2 separate regions of the Homo sapiens genome follow, and region 1 is linked to region 2. The links are contacts of gene promoters, found by promoter capture Hi-C in blood cells and fetal thymus (Javierre and others, 2016). All regions are on one chromosome and are shown on one strand. The core of a region is centred on a gene start or on the middle of the fragment in contact, and the rest is flanking DNA. Distances in the headings are between cores, read along the strand shown. Region 1 has its middle 12 kb from the start of MIR4328. Region 2 holds the start of LPAR4 (lysophosphatidic acid receptor 4).

Region 1 (3,775 bases), core at 520-3,019, 140 kb after region 2:
ATACACTTTTGTATTAAAATACTGAAAAAAAGGTGGGGGGAGGGCAGGCGCGGTGGCTCACACCTGTAATCCCAGCACTTTGGGAGGCCAAGGCGGGTGGATCACCTGAGGTCGGGAGTTCAAGACCAGCCTGACCAACCTGAAGAAACCCTGTTTCTACTAAAAATACAAAATTGGCCAGGCGTGGTGGTGCATGCCTGTAATCCTAGCTACTTGGGAGGCTGAGGCAGGAGAATCCCTTGAACCTGGGAGGCGGAGGTTGTAGTGAGCCGAGATCGTGCCATTGCACTCCAGCCTGGGCAACAAGAGTGAACTCTGACCCAGAAAAAAAAAAAAAAGAGTCATTTTAAGAAAATAAAAACCATGAGCAAGTATGTTTACGGAAGAGTGAGGATACACCTGGATGAATTATATCTGAGACTGTTGAATATTTGCTTGCCTTTTTCTCTCAGAAATATTTTTCTTTTCATGACTCACCTCTCCCATTTTTCCCAGATACCATTTCTACTTAGAGGCAGTCTCACTTAGTGTCTGGCTCTTAGAGAGAAATAATTTCAGATACTTTCAGAGTTTCAAAAAAAAATCAATAGCCTTTTTAAGTTCCAAATAAACGAATGTCTAATGGAGAAATTTAAGATGATACTAATATTGGTAGAGTATGTATATTTGACCGATAACGTCTCTTCAAATTATCTTCTTCCACAGTGGATGGTAGTTAGTCCAAATATACTGGCAAGGGGGAGCAAGTGTGAACCAGTTGGAAAAGGTGAAGCAAGCAAAGGAAATGAGAACAAGGCATCAAAAATGCATTTTTTAACAAATAGAAACATAATTTCATTGAATGAGCAAAATTTGGTGCAATAAGGAAGTTTATAAGACTTTGGGTCTTCTCATATTTATATCCAGTATTATAAGCACATACCTCAATTTACTGCACTTCGCTTAATTGTGCCTTGTAGATATTGCTTTTTTTTTTTTTTTTTCCAAATTGAAGGTTTGTGGCAGTCCTGTGACCAGCAAGTTTATCAGCACCATTTTTCCAACAGCAGGTGCTCACTTCATGTCTTTGTGTTACCTTTTGGTAATTGTTACATTTTCATTATTTTTATATAATTAAACTCTTTCATTTTTTTTTGTCTATTATGGTAATCTGTGATCAGTGATCTTTGAAGTTAATACTTTAATTGTTTGGGGACACCATGAACTGCACCCGCATAGCACACGTGAACTTAATTGATAAATGTTGTATGTGTTCTGACTGCTCCACTGACTGACCATTTCAACAGCTCTCCTCCCTCTCCTTGGGATGCAACAATACTGAAATTAGGCCAATTAATAATCCTACACAAACCTCTAAATGTTCAAGTGAAGGGAAATGTTGTATGTCTCTCTTTTTAAATAAAAAGCTATAAATAATTAAGCTTAGTAAAGAAAGCATATTGAAAACTGAGGCTAAAAGTCCTCTTGTGTCAGACAGCCTAATTGTGAGTGGAAAGGAAAACTTCTTAAGGAATGTTAAAATTGCTACTCCACTGAACACACAAATATCAGGGAAGTAAAACAACTTATTGCTGATATGAAGAAAGTTTTAGTGATCTGGATAGGTCAAACCAGCCATAACATTCCCTTAAGGCAAAGCCTAATTCAGAGGAAGATCCTAATTCTCTTCAATCCTGTGAAGACTGAGAGAGGTGAGAAAGCTGTAAAAGTTTGAAGCTAGCACAGGTTCATGAGGTTTAAAGAGCCATAATATAAAAGTACAAGGTGAAGCAGTAAGTGCTGAGGTAGAAGTTTAAGCAAGTCATTGATAATATTTATCTATAATATTTCATCAATATTTAAGATAATGGGTGAAGTTAGCTACAATAAACAACAAATGTTCAAGGTAGATGAAACAGCCTTATACTGGCAAAAGATGCCATGTAGAACTTTCATAGCTAAAGAGAAGAAGTCACCACCTGGCTTTTAATCTTCATAGGCTAGGCTGACACTCTTTTTAGGAGCTAATGAAGCTGGTGACTAAGTTGAAGCCAGTGCCTACTTACAATTCTGAAAATCACAGGGTCCTTAAGAATTTTGCTAAATCTATTCTGCCTGTGCTCTATCAATGGAAAAACAAAGCTTGGATGACAGCATGTCTGTTTACAGAGTAGTTTACTCAATATTTTAACCCCACTTTTGAGAACTACTTCTCAGAAATAAAAACTATTTATTTCACAATGTTACTGCGTATTGATGATACATTAAGTGATCCAAGAGCTTTCATGGAGATGTACAAGAAGATTAATACTGTTTTCATGCCTGGTAACACAACATCTATTCTGCAGCCCATGCATCAAGGAGTAATTATGACTTTAACGTCTTATCATGTAAGAACTACATTGTGTAAAGGTATAGATGTAATAGCCTTGCAAAATCCAATGATTCCTCGGATGGATCAGGCAAAGTCAATAGAAAACCTTCTAGAAAAAGAATCACTATTCCAAGTGCTATTAAAAACATTTGTGATTCATGGGAGAAGGTAAAATTATCAAAATTAACAGAGCTTTGAAAGAAGTTAATTCTAATGCTCATGGATGACTTTGAAGCGTTCAAGAATTCAGTGGAAAAGGAACTGCAGATGTGGTGGAAATACCAAGAGAACTGGAATTAGAAGTGGAGCCTGAAGATAGGCCTGAATTACTGCAATCTCATAATAAAACTTGAATGGATGAGGAGTTGCTTCTTATGAATGAGCAAAGAAAGTGTTCTTTTGAGATAGAATGTACTCCTGGTGAAGATGCTGTGACAATAGTTTAAATGACAACAAAGGCTTGAGGATATTCCATAAACTCAGTTGATAAAGCAGCAGCAGGGTTTGAGAGGATTGACTCAAATTTTGAAAGAAGTTCTACTGTGGGTAAAATGCTATCAAACAGCATTGCATGCTACAGAGAAATCTTTGTGAAAGAAATAGTCAATTAATTCCGCAAACTTCATTGTTGTCTTATTTTAAGAAATTGCAACAGCCACCTCGGCCTTTAGCAACCACTACCCTGGTCAGTCGGTAGCCATCAACATTAAGTCAAGAACCTTTAACAGCAAAAATATTACAACTTGCTGAAGGCATAGATAATCATTAACCATTTTTAGCAATAAATAATTTTTACATTAAGATATATACATCATTTTTTAGACAAAATGCTATTGCAAACCTAGCAGACTACAGTGTCATGGAAACTTAACTTTTATATGTATTGAAAGATTAAAAAAAATTATTGTGATTCACTTTATTGCAATACTCACTACACTGTGGTTGTCTGAAACCAATTCTGCAATATCTCCAAGGTATGCCTGCATTAACACAAGGAAAAGGCAACCTATGAAATGGGATAAAATATTTGCAAAACTTTTGTCTAATTAGGGGTTAATATGGAACACATATAAGAAACTCCTACAACTCAATGATAAAAACCCAAATAACCCAACGAAAAAATGGGCAAATGACTTTAATAGACATTTCTCCAAAAAAGACACAAATGGACAACAGGTGTTTGGAAAGGTTCTTTATATCACTAATCATCAGGAAAATGCAAATCAAAACCACAATGATGTATTATTTCACACCTGTCAGTATGGCTATTTAAAAATACAAAAGAGTGTTGGTGAAGATGTAGAGAAATTAGAAGTTTTGTGTGCTATTAGTGCAAATATTCAATGGTATGGCCACTATAGAAAATAGTAAAAAATTAAGAATGGAAATGCCCTATGATCCAGCAATTCCACTTTTGGGTAT
Region 2 (3,527 bases), core at 369-2,868:
CTCTGATCTATTACAGAACTCAATCTCCATATAACTGCCTTGGTATTTTTTTTTTCAAAATTTACCTTTGGTATCCCACTTTTTTCATGTGTCTTTGTGTCCCTACCTAGACTCTGGCATACTGCAGGGTAGAGACTGTATCTTTCGCCTGTGGACTGACAAATGCACCGAGTACTGGTCTAGGATGAGAGTTGGTAAAAGACCATTTATAAAGACACAGACAATGTCAGCAACTGACAGAAATAGACATATTTGAGATAAGCAGAGAGGGGAATAAAAAGAACAGAGATGGGCGGTGGGATGGAGAAGAGGAAGCAACAGAGAAAGTGTTTTTTTAGAGCCAGTTACAAGTAATAAGGCTAGTGTCAGCTTCACACTAACTTGTTTACTGGCCTCCACTGATAGTGAGAAGAGCCACAATAGAGCTGAACAAATAGGGAGAATAAACAAGCTTGAAACATGCCCTACTTGGGAGGCAGCTTAATTACACAAACTGAAGTTCTGAAGCAAATAGAGGATCCTCCAAGACTCCAGGGGCTCTGCTCTGCCAAGAGAAAGAAAGCACCTTATCCCTGGGCAGAGAATTTCATTCCAGAGGAGGGGGAGGGGCTGCTGTTGGTGGCTTTTGCAGTGGGTGGAGATAGAGTAGAGAAGGCTTGCAGGGGTGGGCTGGCAGAGGGGAAGGGCCAACAATGAAGTTACAGATGGATGAGTGGGTTTCTGCCACAAAATCAGATCAAGGAGAGGGAGGTGAAGAGGAAAATATAGGGAGGAAAAAAAAAAAGAATTGTGAGTGACCAAGGCAGTAAACCTGTAGATAATTAGAAAAGAAAATCTTGCCATGGGGGAGGTGGGCGGAGGTATACAGTTGCAGATAACTCTCTATTGTAAATAGATTGCATCTGTGCTATTTATTTTGTATTTTAGCAAATCTCTGAAATTTTCATGGTAATTAGACTTACTGCGAGGCAGTTACTTGAGAAGTGTAGACCCTCCTTTTGCTACAGAACACTCCCTAGTCCTTGGAAGGTGGGTGTCAGAGCTCTGGGACCCTAGTACATCTCTATCTGAGGGCACTTATCTGGCTTAAGTGAGTGTAGTATTAAAATTTACTTTATATTTTTGTGATGGTGGGAGATTGAATTTTGCACAGTGTGATAGGAATATTTTTATGGTACCTTTCATTTTTGCCTTTTCCTTGCCCCCTACTTATTATTATCAATATTGTTGTAATTATTTTAAACAAGTAGGAGCGAACATGGTATGCATAATTGAAACACTCCTCCTTGTTTGAAATGTTGTCTCCTCCTCTGCAGTCCTGCGGCAAAGACAGGCACACAGGCTTTCTCTGTGGATTAATTGGTCAGGAAAGACACTTTTTATATTGTCAAGTGGCACTTAAGCCATTAATTCTTGACTGTGAAACTGCTTTTCCTGGGCAATGCTCTTTAAGGAAAAACTTATTCAGTCCAGTGACTGGTGACTAAGGGAACGATGGAGCACAGGGAATTGGGCGGGATCTAGACTCCTAATAATGCCTCCTTAGCCAATGAAAAGCATTTCCTATTGAGACCCCCAAGAGTTCCCCTGGCCGTCGGCTCCAGCTCGGACTTCAGGCCTTTTTGTGTCCTGTTTGCTAAAGGCATGCGGGCTACAGCATTCAAGAGAGGGAGTCGTTAACAAAGGGAAAGAGATAAATGTAAATAAGCTCACATTTACAGAATGAGCGGTTTGCAGTAAAAAGCTGCGGCAGCCCAGAGTCTGCTACTTTAGGCTGGGCTAACCTTTCCCTGTAAAAAAAAAAAAAAAAAAAAAAAAAAAAAAATGGATAAAAATATGCACTTCCAAAGGGCGAGTTGCCCATTTACATGTTTATTAGCTAATTATCTACAGGCATCAGCACATTCTCTCATCTAGCACACTCTTTCTTGGGGTAAGTTTCTCTTTTAAAAAGATTTGATTTTGGCGTTTGGGGGTGGGGGATAGCATAACAAACTACAGTGGAAACACTGATGCTTTGAGAGTGTAAGGAAAGAAGTTAGACTTCAACTCTGAAGTACTGAACAAGGATCTTCGTGATGAATGGTAAAAAACGAGAATTTCCATTGTTTTGGCAATAATATTGTTTCCGTGGAAGACATACAGGATTTTCAGGCTGCTGTTTCATGTAAACACAGTTGTTCTAAAGAGCTAATTTAAAATCACAGTGTAGAACAATTTAGAAAGTATGTCGACTAGCTTTGTATTTCTTTGGTTTACAGTTTATTGTGCGCTAACGTGGCTTGTATTATGATGAGGTTTCTTCTAGTAAAACTATACATGACATGTCTTTGATGCTTAATTGATTTATGGAGAATGTGACATTTGCTATATTGAATAATTCATGAACTTGCCCATAAAGGAAGAATCATGTTTGAATGAAAAACTCTGTCATAAACTGAATTTGCAATTATATGTGAAATTAATTGCTGTTTGCCATACAAATGCATCAATGTGTCATCTTTAAACTCTCTTCTTGTAAATTTTAAATATTTTCAGTAAAAAGGTCTTATTGAGTTGCTAAATACAGTATTTCAGTTACCTTTTAAAAGGAAATTCAGCAATGTAATTTATCATTATTTCAGTGTGGAAAAGACCAGACAAATTCAAAGGTTAGAATATTTCAGAGCTTGGTGGGGTTATTCACTTTGCTACCTTACAAAATTATACCATCTTTCTTTATCTTGACTAACATAAAGACAATAATAATAACCTGAGATCCAGATTACCCAATGGCTTTGCAACACGTTTATTTTTCAGAACAAAATTCCCAACATCATATCCCATCAACATAGATTATAAAACCTTTTGCCTTGTCACAGATGAAAAGTTGCACTCTTGCCAAGAAGGATGAGTTCACCTGATAAACTTGATGGCATCTACATTCTAAAGTCTCTCCTGCCAATCAGAGATGGGAATGAAAGCCTTATTGGAACAATCAGGCCAGTCTTTCAGAATGTGTGCTCTCTGCAAGTTAAAGGGAGAACCAGGAAGATGCCTCACAGAAACATTCAGGCCAAGCTTAGCTAAAGCTTGATCTATTCAATTGCCTTTTGGGAAAATGCAGTGAGAATTGTTGCCCTTGCTGTGGTTTGTTCAGCGCCTAATTGTGTAGCTACCTTTTGTCTGTGTATATGGTCATCACATATAGTCTGCCCTTGGCCTTCTTGTTGGGGGAAGAACAAAACCTGTAATGTGTTTGCGAATATTAGTACTGAAAATTGGGAGCCCAATAAAAGGTTACCTACCACTGGGAATCCACCTTTACTTTAAGCGGATAAATAATCAGTTATCAGAACAATGTAACGGGTAAATGATCTAATGATTCTACATGGTTATGTCCTGAAATATGCCGATAACCTCATATTCTGAGGGGTGAAGTGACCAGGAAACAGGTGGGAAGGGTTGAGGGTTGAGACCTAAACAATTAGAGGTGATATGCCTGCTGAAATGAGCACAAGGACAGAGGATGAGGAAAATAAGGGAAT

The links. The method cuts DNA at HindIII sites, captures the fragments that hold promoters and counts their contacts. A CHiCAGO score of 5 or more calls a contact.
Region 1: a contact is called between a fragment that was not itself captured here and the fragment with the promoter of LPAR4 in region 2, in 1 of 17 cell types (fetal thymus). The highest score is 5.6, in fetal thymus.

The regions. Positions count from the first base shown.
Region 1 is chrX:78,887,003-78,890,777 of GRCh38, forward strand. No RefSeq gene overlaps it. Among named protein-coding and RNA genes, the nearest start is that of MIR4328, 12 kb to the right of the region's middle. The HindIII fragment of the contact is 700 bases long and covers 1,420-2,119 here.
Region 2 is chrX:78,746,102-78,749,628 of GRCh38, forward strand. It overlaps LPAR4 (lysophosphatidic acid receptor 4), which reads left to right and starts at 1,619. Exons shown (of 5, transcript NM_001278000.3): 1 at 1,619-1,933. The HindIII fragment of the contact is 2,609 bases long and covers 450-3,058 here.